4 separate regions of the Homo sapiens genome follow, and regions 2, 3 and 4 are each linked to region 1. Evidence: promoter capture Hi-C in 16 types of primary human blood cells and fetal thymus (Javierre and others, 2016). All regions are on one chromosome and are shown on one strand. The core of a region is centred on a gene start or on the middle of the fragment in contact, and the rest is flanking DNA. Distances in the headings are between cores, read along the strand shown.

Region 1 (3,009 bases), core at 216-2,715:
TGACCCCTTAAGGATTGCTCTTGCTAAGTCCATTTATCCCCGCCAAGTGGTTTTACTTCTGTCTCTTTTCCTGACCCTAGGCACATTTAGCATCAGGATACTCATCCATTTCTGAACTGTGTGTGAACAGCACACAAACCTATCACAATTTGTGAATGAGCATTGGAGAGGTGTAGGGGCCAAGGGAAAACTTTCCCTTCACCCTCCAAAGGTTTGCTGAAAATCACTGACAGAAAGAAGATTAACAGGAGAAAAGGCATAAAAACTTATTTGATTATAGTTTTACCTGACACAGGAGCCTTCAGAATGAAGACCCAAAGGTACAGGGGTGATTACCCATTTTTATACTTAGGTTCAACAAAGTATAGACAGCCATGTAGAAATACGATTGGACAAAATAGGCGATCTAATGCTAATAGACTGACCTGGCCTTGGCCAGTCTAGTTTAGATTCCTGGCCTCTCTGTGCAGCATTCCCTCCTCCTGGATATGGGATAGAACCTTCTCTAGAAGAGGAGTTTTATAACCTACAGTTGAGATGGGTCAAATAATTTATGGCCAGTTTTTACACAGAAAGGTGGAGGAAAGTTAGAGTAATGCTTTTGGGTTTTGTGTCTGGCTTCAGGGAAAGGGGGTTCCGGTTTCAATGACTCTTCTTAGGGAAGATGGGCTCCAGTTTCTATGACCTGCCTCCTAGAATGAGACTGAGAAGAGAGCAGGGCAGGAAGTCAGAGAAACACTGTTGCGTCTGAGGCCTTCACTTTGGGCTATCATTTTCTGAGCCTCAACAGAGGGAAAAACAAAAAAGGTAAGGAGGAACTGCAAAGGCAGAAAAAGAGGGTAATATAATAATAACTACCATTTTGTACTGAGCACCAGGCATCCTGCTGGGCGCATTACCTGGCTTCACTCATTTAATACAACCCTAAAGCTGGGCACTGTCTTTACAGATGAGAAAACCGAAGTTAAGAAGTGATTTGCCAGGTCACCCAGCTAGTATCTGGCAGAGCCAGGGTTCCTCCAGCTCAAAAGAAGAGCTCTAGGAGAAATACGAGGAAGAAAGGTTTTTAATTGTTGTTTTAAAGGGCCAGCATAGGCGCTGGAGAGGAAAGAAAGGCATATGCAAAGGGTGGAGAAACAAAAAGTGATGTTAAGTCAAGAGCCGAGGAGAGGGAACTGCAGGAGAAGCAAAGTGAAAAAAGGTTAAGAAACGCCTTGAGTACTGCGAGGACGTTAAGATCCAAACAGCACAAGAAGGAAGGTCAAAATCAGGTGTACGAGGCCCGTGTGCCCCGCCCCGCCCCAGGCGGACGGCTGACAGCGCCCCACCCCAGGAGGAGGCGGGACTTCCTCACCGCAGAGTGGCTGCTTCCGGTAGAATCCGGAAGCCTGTACGGAGAAGGGGCGGGGCCAAAACTGCGCGCCCAATCGGGGTGACGCTCTAGCCTTGCCGGGGACTCGTGGGTAACTTGCTTTTGGGAGCCAGCGGTATGGCGTCGGGCTGCAAGATTGGCCCGTCCATCCTCAACAGCGACCTGGCCAATTTAGGGGCCGAGTGCCTCCGGATGCTAGACTCTGGGGCCGATTATCTGCACCTGGACGTAATGGACGGGTAACTCCTCCGGGCTCCGGTCGGGCTTGCCGCGCGGCGGGGCGGATCAGTGCACCTTTATTGACTGCTTGTTGGATGTACCGCGTCCCTGTACCACCGAGCGCCTCACTCTGAACGCGATGCTAGAAGGGGTGTGGGGTAGGAGCCCTGGAGGCTCTAGCAGGAGCAGAACCGACGCGGTATCCTGGGTTGCGGCCGGGTCCCAAACCTCAGTTCCTCCCCTCCCCCCACGTAACGTGTGGTCTTCCATCACTTAGGACCCGGAAGCGACCTAAATCTTTAGGACATTTCTTCACTTTCAGCTAGAGAAACTGAGGCCCAAGGGGAGAAGCATGACTTGCCCAAGCTCATATAGCTAGTTAGTGGCAAAGCTGGGGAAACAGACTTCTCTAACGATTTAAGTTGGCACCTGCGGTTAGGTTCCCGAGTTCTGCCACTTGCTGGGTTACCTTGGACAAGCCACTAACCTCATTGAGCTTCAGTTTCATAATTTGAAAAATGGAACTACTAACAGAACCTACCGCTTAGGCATCTTGGAAGATGAAATGAGCGAGTACATGAGAAGTTTACAGTGCCTGGCGTATATTAAGTTCTCTATAATTGTTAATTACATCATTATTACAATTCTGATTTTCCTGTCTATTTTCTCTTCAGGCACCCTGCTCTTCAGGGAGGTCAGTTTTTTGTAAGTAATTTTTAAGCACCGTAGTTACAGCACATAATATTGTTTGGAGTCAGGATATTAGTTTCTGAAGTTGGTTACAGAATGAGGAAACAACCCCAGAGAAAGCAGTAAGACTCCCTCAAGATTACAGAAGATTGTGACAGACTTGCAACTTGGCTCTTCCTAGGTTTGCCAAGTAGTTCTCTGAGCCCCACTGTTAACTGACTATAAAAATCATAAATACCATTATCTTGAGTGGGGATGGAAAAATAAATTTATTTTAAATAGGTAAAAACCCTGTGTTCCCTCATTCAGTTTGCAAATTGGTGTTATTTTCTAAAGGTGATGATTTCCTTTTCTTTTTAATGTTAATCTGGCTTTGAAGAGTTTTATCTTCCATTGCTCTATGTGGTTAAATGTATTGTTTCTCTTTGGCATTTTACCCAGTTACCTTAGGAGTCCACCCAACTGATAATGACAAAACTTTGACCATAGAGTACTAAAAATAATAGGCCAAATGTGTAAAAAGTTTAGTAAATATTACCTCTCACAAAGGTTGGCTTTTAATTGGCCATTATATGTAATTATACTTATATACTTTATTTTTGACATCTTTGCTTGAAAGCCCTAAACTGTCACAGGTAATAATACCCTGAGTGTCTACCTCAAAGGTAAGTAGCTACATTTTTGTGCCTGAGAAAATACCTAGAGGGTCACAGGATGGAACAGCTATG
Region 2 (3,009 bases), core at 308-2,807, 4.8 Mb after region 1:
TTGGCCGGGCACCGTGGCTCACGCCTGTAATCCCAGCACTTTGGGAGGCAGAGGCGGGCGGATCACGAGGTCAGGAGACGGAGACCATCCTGGCTAACACGGTGAAACCCCATCTGTACTAAAAATACAAAAAATTAGCCGGGCATGATGGCGGGCGCCTGCAGTCCCAGCTACTTGGGAGGCTGAAGCAGGAGAATGGCGTGAACCCGGGAGGCGGAGCTTGCAGTGAGACAAGATCGTGCCACTGCACTCCAGCCTGGGCGACAGAGCGAGACTCCGTCTCAAAAAAGGAAAGAAAAGAAAAAGTTGTGTTACTTATACTTTATGCAACTAGGTAACTTAAGTTCTGCAAGTTAGAAATCAAAGGGGAAAAAAGTCCAAAAAGGATATAAACTTTTGACAGCTACAAATAACAAAAAAACTGCCAGTGATCTTCATACAGAAATACTTAGCTGTACACACAGCAAGTGCTCAATAAAAATGCTTTTCAGAAGAAATGAAAATGAGACAAACCTTTCTTGGGTTTTACAAACCTTCTTGGTTTGTATACTAGAAAGAGCTACACGAAAAAAAGCAAGAAGTAACACTCATGAAAATGTCTTTGGACGGAATGAAAACCCTGAGAGGACTCCCATAATGTGACAGCATGAAGGAAAACAATAAACAGCATCACTAAGAGCGGGGACACCAGACATACAGTCTTTTGAGCAAACTAAGAAAATGAGAAATTCCGTGCCATCTTCAATCTACAACTATGGTAGATATCCGATGCTCCATCCCATCTCACTCGAAAAAGCTGGCACGGAGAAAATGTCAAAAAGGCCAGTTTAACTTAGAGTGGCAGCTGCTTCTAATTTAGAGGGTCTCCGGGGCGGCCCGCCAGCCCAATTCGCCACAGCTCCCGGAAAGCAGCGGGGTAATCCAGGGCCGGGTAAAAAATGCAGAAGCCTCAGCCCCACCCCAGCCCGATTCAAACTCTGGAGGCGCGACCGGGATGAACATTTTTTTAGCCACACCTCCAGACGGTTCTTCAGCCCGCTGAAGTTCAAAAACTACCGTTTCAGTTGGATTCAGGGCAAGGGGAGGCCGGTAAGTCGCCCAAAAATAAAGTGAATGAGAAGCAGAAGTTGTTAATACTATATCCCCCGGCAGGTGCTAACCGCACGCCGACCCGACTGCAGCGCGGGAACGGAAGGAGGAAACGGAAGATTTGAAAAGATTCTGCCGCCCCCAGAAACTGTGCGACCCGTGCCCTCGCAGCCACCCCCAAGAAGCTCCGTCTTTACCAACGCGAGCAGCGCAGCAGCTTCTCCAGGCGGTCGAGCGCGGCGCGACTGTGGGCCCAGGCACCGCGACCATCCGGTTCCATGGCGGGCGCGGAACGAGGCTCGTTCCCGGAGCGGATCCTCGGCTGCCGGTTCCTCGGCTGCCGATTATCCGGCATCGTCCCGCCTTCGGATGAAAGGCTCCTCGCAGAGCGGGAAGCAAGGAAGCCTCGGGAAACCACAGGGAAGCTGCAGGCCAGCGACTCGAAACCGGCCAAGCTCTTCCCGCGTCTGGGACGGCGGGCCGCCAGAGGGGCGGGGCGCGCGGGGAGGGGCGGGGCACGGCGGCCGCAATGCTCCCAAAATAGGGACTCGCAGGGCACAGGGGCGGGGCCGCGAGAGCCAGCCGCTGGCCGAGTGGGCGGGACCTAGGGGTGGGGCTGGAGGCTGAAACTTGCCAAAGTCCCGGCGTGTGGGACTTAGGGGAGGGGCCGCGAGAGCCGTGGGACCGAGGGGGCGGGGCCGGACGGCTGAAACTTGCCAAAGTCCCGGCGCGCGGGTCCTAGGGGCGGAGCCGCGAGAACACGCCGGGGACAGAGGGGGCGGGGCCTAGGAGCCTCGGGGCGGGACAGGACGGTCGAAACCGAAGTCCTGGCGCGCGGGGCCCAGGGGCGGGGCCTAGGGGCCTCGGGGCAGGACAGGACGGCTGAAACCGAGGTCCCGGCGCGCGGGGCCCAGGCGCCGTGCAGTGAGAGCACGCCGCTTGACCGAAGGGGCGGGGCCTGAAGGCTGAGCGCAGTCGCGAGGCTGTAGTTGGCAGGAGAGCGGGCGGGGCCTGAAGCCCCTCTGGGCTGCCTGGACGGATGAAGTCCAGGTGGAAAGCCAGTCGACGTTTCCCGGGAGCTACGACTCCAGGGACCCTCATCCGAGCTTAACCGTTGGAACAATCACAAACCCAGAAACTTTTAGCTGAGTGTTATTTATAAAAAGCGCTGTTTTGACTGCTGTTGGACTTGGAAAAGCTTTGCCCACGATACTGAAGGTACCACTCTTTGTTCCTAAGAAAGCAACCTTTTCTTTCCTCTCACCTCAGCTGTGGCGTATATTGTAACTGAGTAAAAATAAGGAAAGTTTCTAATTCTAACTAGTTAACAAATATCAGCTCAAAGGCATGTCTGAAAAGATCTGGTTTACTTTTAAAATATTGGTATAAAATTTCAAAAAGGGTTTTTTTTGTTAGAGAGTGTGTCCACCTTCCTCCTCCAGATCTTTCACTGATCGCCGTAATTTACAGATAAGACCTACAGAGCAACCCGTCATGCCTTCCTGCCGCGCCCCAAGTTCATTTCCAAGTCCTTGCATTTTTTCCCCCTAACTTGTCTCGAATGCACCCATTTTCTCTCCGTCTCTGCTCCACAACATCCCCAGTTGCCTCGTCCTCGCCTGGTTTCCTGTCGTAGCTTTCTAGCTGATATCCAAGTGTCTATCCAGGTCCCAGCCAGTCCCGAGACTGCGGTGTGGCCGCCTAAAACATTTCCAAACACAAAACTCATCGTGGCACTTCCCTTTCTTAAAACTCCTTAAAGTTTTTCTCTGCTCTTTGACTAGCCTCTTGTCAAAACCTCCTCTGGCCATCATGGTCCCAACCCCACAGTGCGTTCCCTTAGGTCATTAAAAGCCCCTGCACCTTGCTGCCTCATGGCTTTTGCGCAAAGATTCACTTTGGAACCTGGAATTGGCCTCC
Region 3 (3,009 bases), core at 274-2,773, 4.3 Mb before region 1:
TCATTGCCTAACAGGATTCAGTGGAGTAGGATTCCAGGACACAGTGGCCTTGTATCATGGCTGGCCCTCCAGGAGAAAGCATCTTCTAAAGGTTTAGGAAGCTGTCAAGTTTAGATAAGGCTGAGCTCCGATCCTCTGGGACCTTGGTTGTATTAATAAGGAGAAATTAATTTTTAACCACTGGGAACATTGCCAAATTATGTGACCTTTGGCAGACCAGCTGTGCTATAAAAATAAATCCCCCATTTCTGAAAATGCTACTCCTATCCAGTAGAACAATAACAATGTGGCATTTAGGATAGAGAAGAGTAGGATTGAGAAGAAAGGAGAGAAATAGGAGTTGGCAAAAAACAAAAAAACAAAACAAAACAAAAAAAACAAAAAAACCCTTCGATGTTGTGATACATGGTTTCAGACCTGAACTTCCTATCCATCACCCGCCCTCCCCGGCCCCATGCCTAGGGTTTCCAGAACACAGGAAAGAGGGCCAGGATGACAAGGAGCTGAGTGCCTGTGTGTACAGGGAGTGGAGAAGGTGTTAAGTGCTTCCAGCCCACTCACACCCCAGCCTCAAACACATCTCTCATTGTTCACACAGACAGAGTACTGGCACAGGCAGAGAAAAGGGGGTTTTCAAACAGGCAAAATATTTGTCTTTCCCTAAATGCTACCAAGTAGGTTTGCCACTGAGAAGTTTTGTGGGGATCATCCCTGGCCTTCCCAGCTTCTGAAACATGGGAACTAGACTGCCTGGGTTTAGAATCTAGCTCAGCCACTTGCTGGCTCTGTGATCCCAGTATCCTGTGTGATCAGATACTTAGTCTATGTGCCTCGGTTTCCTTGTCTGTAAATGTGTTTGGTAACAATACCTACTTCATAGGGTTGTTGGGCTATGTCAGATTATGTAGAATACTGTTTGGCACATATGAAGCCCATTCTGAAGTCACTGAATCTTTAAAACTGTTTCAGTGGGGTTAGTGGAATCTCGTGATCGTAGAAAGCACACTATAACCATTGTGGTAAGTTGATTTTTATGAGATTTAAAAAATAATTCTTATTCTCAGTTCTTCCACCACCAAACCTCTGTGTTTTGTAAGCACCATATTATCTCTCGCCATGCTCTTCTTCAGAGAATATTCTCTGCTGAGTTCTTATCTTAGATTTATGTCTCCCTTGCATTTTTTCCCTCCTTCTTCCTCTGTTTTCAGTATTCTTACCTCCTATTTTCTTTTTAATCTCTCATTTCCTTTCCTTTTCCTCCCCTTCCATCCTTCAACACTGAGAGTGTGCTCAGCAGGGAACACCGTGTTTAAGGCGCTCTCCCGAATGTGTAATAACTTCTACTCTGGCACTAAGGCCCTTCAGCAGCTGAACTCAAAAAAGTCATCATAAAGACAAAATAGCTTTTACCCAGCAAGGGTCTTAATAATCCCATTTCCCTCTGGGTCTTCATAAAGGAGTCATTATCTAATCCAGAAAAAAAGGAGGGGCTGGGAATAACAAAAGAGAAGCTCTCGGTAGCACAGAGTGCACGAGGCTGCCGGCCAGCTGAGTGCACGTGGCCGTGGTACCCTGCTCCCGCCTCCACAAATCCTGCGATAACCAGTAACCAGTTCTGGCGAGTCTTTCAGCAGAGAAGATAATGGGAATTGCAAATTACTAGACCGAATGCTAATAATAATTGTTTGGATACAGGAGAAAAAATAAAACAGATGTTCCCCAAAGGCATTCTAGGGGCTACAGAAAGGAAAATGAGGAGGGGGTTGAGTAAAGAGAGGTTTGCTGAAACCAAGCACAAGAAAATCCAATACCAACAAATGGCTTAGTGATGAAGTAATAGTCAGCATCTTCCTGGTGGTACAGATAACCAATATTTAAAGTTGCCTTTGGAAGTGTGGGGGTTGGAGTGAAGGGGACAAAACCCCTGAGATAAATTAATTTTACTAGTATTAAAAATAAAATGGCCGAGCATGGTGGCTCATGCCTGTAATCCCAGCACTTTGGGAGGAGGAGGTGGGCAGATCACCTGAGGTCAGGAGTTCGAGACCAGCCTGGCCAACATAGCAAGACCCCATCCCTGCTAAAAATACACACACACACACACACACACACACACACACACACACACACACACACACAATAGCTGGGTATGGTGGTGGGCGCCTATAATCCCAGCTACTTGGGAGGCTAAGGCAGGAAAATCGCTTAAACTTGGGAGGCGGAGGTTGCAGTGGGCCGAGATTGTGCCACTGCACTCTAGCCTGGGTGACAGAGTGAGACTCTGTCTCAAAAAATAAAATAAAATAAAATAAAATGTGAATGTGCTTTGAAATTTATCATTATTATCTGCTTTAGGGTGTTCTAGGAGACATAGTTCGCACTAACTCTACCTTGACCTACTTGTGACTAGGTATTATTATCCCAGACAAGTTATTCAAACTCTCAATTCACCACTAAGAAACATTTGCACTTAATAACAGCTGGGGGTGGGGAGGGAAGCGCAGTAGCTGTGGCCGCAGAATAATTTCTGATAGAACTCTCAGAGTCTGTCCTATCTAGTGATACCTTTGATGTTCCTTTGGTCACTTCTTAATTGGTTAATTCACCAAATCTTGATGAGTCTGACTTTTGGGAAAGGTTCTGGTTTGATCCTGTAAGACTTGCCAAAGATGGATCAGCAAGGAGTCATGACCTCAAGTTGCTGGTGGCTCAGTAGACTGGATGAGGCCCTCCAGAACTCTCACACATCTCAGAAGATGCTAAAGAGCTTCAGCCTCTCAGATGCACAGAGGAGAAAGACCACTCCCAGTATGGGAGAGGAGAAAGGGCAGAGGCAGCCTGGAGTGAGAGAGTAGGTGGGATTTAGAGCAGGGAAGGGCATACCAGGGGAAGGGGAAGGTGTGAGTAGAGAAATGGATGCTGGGTTGGTTTGGGGAACACTCAGAAGCTGCAGTTTAGAATGTATGGTGGGAAATAATTGCAAACAAGATTATAAATAATAGCTTGGGC
Region 4 (3,009 bases), core at 243-2,742, 3.2 Mb before region 1:
TACTGTTCAGTCTTCACGCCATAGTGAAGCTTGGAATCCCTCAGAACACTATTTTGGTGCAGACTTTGCTGAGGGTGACCCAGGTAAAATAAAAAGGAGATTTAAACATGCATTTACTTGATTTAGAATATTTTGAAAGAATGAAGGGATATAGATATGTAGCCTTCTTAAAAGAGACTATCAAATGGAATGGTAGTTTCCTTTATATTTATTTCTGCATATATATTATATGATTTAGAGGCCTTAAGTTAGCTATTTTCTTCCTTTTGCTATGGAAATTTATGAAAGCCTTCCACATTTACCATCCCCAGGGTTGAGTAGTGGTGAAGAAGCTAAAGTGAGGAGAGATGCAAGATATACAAAGAAAGCCTGGGTAGTTGAAGAAGGAGAGAAGGGAAGGGGAAGGAAGAGAATTTAGTCCATGGTAGAATTGGAATTCAGGCCCAGTAGATGATACCTAAACTGATGAGCAGAATGATAGTGAAGGGGATGGTGTTTCAAGTAGAGAGGATTGCATGCCCTACTGTTCCCAGAGGAAAAGTTTGGCAAATTTGAAGAGCTGAAAGTAGTTTGGTGTAGCTGAAGCACAGAATGATGGAGTTGTATGTTTGAGTGGGTGGGAACAAGTTTTGTACATGGCGATCAAAGGAGAGGAGTGAGGGGCAAGAGGCTTAGGGGCAGAACAAGAGGCCAGAAAAATAGGAACCAAATCATAAAGAGCCTCTTACGGCTAGCTAAGGAGTATGCATTTATCCTGTAGGCAATGGGAATCCGTTGAAGAATTTTAAGCAATGGGTTGACGTGCTCAAATTTGTATTTTAGATCACTGAATGAGTGGAAGATGTATTGGAAGAAGGTTAAAATTGGATGGAGGGAGCCATTTTTAGTCTAAAGCAAGAATGTCAGTGTCCTGTTTAATGTCACTGAAATGGTGCCAAATGTAAGGAAGGAAGGATTAGCTTGTTAATCATTTATGTTTTAAGAGTGTACACTTCTGACGTATAAACTCAGTGATAATGAAGTAATTTCTTAGCCAGGTGTGGTGGCTCACACCTGTAATCCCAGCACTTTGGGAGGCCAAGGCAGGAGGATCTCTTGAGCCCAGGAGTTTGCGACCAGCCTGGGCAACAAAGGGAGACTCCATCTCTACAAAAAATACAAAAATTAGCTGGGTGTGATGTACTTGCCTGTGGTCCCAGCTACTTGGGAGGCTGAGGTGGGAATATCACTTGAGCCTGGGAGGTCGAAGCTGCCGTGAGCCATGATCGTGCCACTGCACTCCAGCCTGGGTGACAGAGCCAGACCCTGTCTGAAAATAATAATAATAATTTTTTAAAAGACAGGAATTCCTTGGGGATAATCTGGCATATATCCTGTCTTGCTATAGAATTCAATAATTGGGTTCATAGCTATGGGAAAGTTTTTAACTTTTTACATTACTGTGATTTCCATATGTCCTTAAGGAATAACTAATTTTTATTTAGTGTATGTGTGTGTATTTGTTTAAACCACAGAATATCCCTGTTTATTTGTAGGCTGTGTATTAGTTCCTATGTAGTTATTTAAAAGTGACTAATAAATCACCTTACCTGGTCAGTGATGCTCTTACTAGATTTTGGACAGATATTTGCATCGGGATGACATCTGTGTTGGTGAGGTATGAGTAGTAGATTTTTGTAGTCAAAACATCTGTATGGATGATGGTGTCTCACTGACCTGTTGGAATAATGTAAAGACATTTTAGAGGTGAAAGGACAGTGTGCCATCAATGAATTTGCCCTTCAAACACATAGACAAGTGGTCTTTTCTTTCATAGTAGATATGGATGGAATGCTGTAAAATTGTTAAGGAAACCCTTTCATAGGAAAGAAACCTTTTTTTTCTTCTAACCATAACCATTTCTTATTATTACCTGGTTCTGACTTAAGACTTTGTGATTCATTGGTTATGTAATTTTAGCAAAAGAGCTTCTCTCTCTTCAGGCTAAGTTTCCTCAGATGTGATTTTTTGTGAGGTTTATAGACTAGTGATTAAACTGTAGAGTACTGCTAGTTAAGCTGTGTTGTTACTATTCACTTTCCAGATTATGCCCACTATTTCTGGAATCAAACTTAGTACCCTAAGTAAAGGGACCTGAAAGAAGAATCTGTGGGGTGTAGGCTTCCCTTGAGACCCAGATAGCAGTGGTAGAATGTGGCAGGAGATGTGAATCAGAAGACTCACAAGTAAAGTTTCAGCTTGATACCCAGGAAAGGATCTAGGGAAATTGTAAAGGCACAACCATTTAAGGATCTTTAGAGATGGGCTAGTTACCTTCTGTACTTCAGTAGTTCTTATATTCCTGCACTTTAACTGTTTTTGCCTTTGTAATGACCTTGAATTCCAAGAAGAGGTAAAAATAATGTTTAATAAAAGTTGTTTCAGAAGCAGTGGAATATAATAAATATCAAATGTGTTTTCAGTGATAATGGTGAAGGTAAAAAAGTGTTGATGCATAAAAGGATGTGTATCAGTCAGCTGGAAAATTCAGTAAGTATGACTTTTTATTTCCCAAAGATGCTGTTTATTGTGGACTGACTGTAGGAATTGTTGGTTTGATACTCAATCGTTTTATTCAGTACATCAGTTCAGTGGTTTTGCTTGGGTAAGATAGTTTACTATGGGCTCATCACCTGTAGTGTTTTTGTAATTATATTTCAATAGGAACGTATCAATGAGTGTGATGAGATATGCCTTTCAGTTTTGTCAACTGTTTTAGAGGCAATGGAACCATGCAAGAATGTTCATGTTCTACGAACGGGATTCAGGTGAGAACTCTCTTATGCTTTCTTCATGTGGTTTTCTTTGTTCCTCATATATCTGGAATAAAAAAATTGAGATGAAAACTAAACTCCTTTCTTGAGGGGAGGAGGGGTTGGGGAGGCTTTGTTGGTAGTTACAGTCTTTCATACCTTATTAAGCTTAAAATCCTGACTCTGGATGACATAGGCTGGAAATACTTCTCTTAGG

The links. Contacts are between HindIII fragments. The CHiCAGO score rates a contact against its expected background, and 5 or more counts as called.
Region 2: the fragment with the promoter of BARD1 here is called in contact with the fragment with the promoter of RPE in region 1 in 5 of 17 cell types (total CD8 T cells, non-activated CD4 T cells, naive CD4 T cells and 2 more); the score reaches 14.0 in total CD8 T cells.
Region 3: a contact is called between a fragment that was not itself captured here and the fragment with the promoter of RPE in region 1, in 1 of 17 cell types (M0 macrophages). The highest score is 8.4, in M0 macrophages.
Region 4: a contact is called between a fragment that was not itself captured here and the fragment with the promoter of RPE in region 1, in 1 of 17 cell types (monocytes). The highest score is 8.7, in monocytes.

The regions. Positions count from the first base shown.
Region 1 is chr2:210,001,173-210,004,181 of GRCh38, forward strand. RPE (ribulose-5-phosphate-3-epimerase) reads left to right here and starts at 1,466. Exons shown (of 6, transcript NM_199229.3): 1 at 1,466-1,611. The coding sequence starts at 1,490. RefSeq lists enhancers at 1,475-1,524, 1,565-1,734. The HindIII fragment of the contact is 5,690 bases long and covers 1-3,009 here.
Region 2 is chr2:214,808,126-214,811,134 of GRCh38, forward strand. It overlaps BARD1 (BRCA1 associated RING domain 1), which reads right to left and starts at 1,558. Exons shown (of 11, transcript NM_000465.4): 1 at 1,287-1,558. The coding sequence starts at 1,444. SNHG31 (small nucleolar RNA host gene 31) reads left to right here and starts at 2,104. Exons shown (of 4, transcript NR_110292.1): 1 at 2,104-2,307. RefSeq lists enhancers at 497-546, 837-916 and a silencer at 1,467-2,036. The HindIII fragment of the contact is 4,673 bases long and covers 1-2,285 here.
Region 3 is chr2:205,688,492-205,691,500 of GRCh38, forward strand. The region is part of intron 1 of NRP2 (neuropilin 2); the gene reads left to right. Among named protein-coding and RNA genes, the nearest start is that of NRP2, 7.5 kb to the left of the region's middle. The HindIII fragment of the contact is 3,135 bases long and covers 1-3,009 here.
Region 4 is chr2:206,767,388-206,770,396 of GRCh38, forward strand. It overlaps FASTKD2 (FAST kinase domains 2), which reads left to right. Exons shown (of 12, transcript NM_001136193.2): 2 at 1-83; 3 at 2,704-2,807. Among named protein-coding and RNA genes, the nearest start is that of FASTKD2, 3.3 kb to the left of the region's middle. RefSeq lists an enhancer at 2,312-3,009. The HindIII fragment of the contact is 2,931 bases long and covers 28-2,958 here.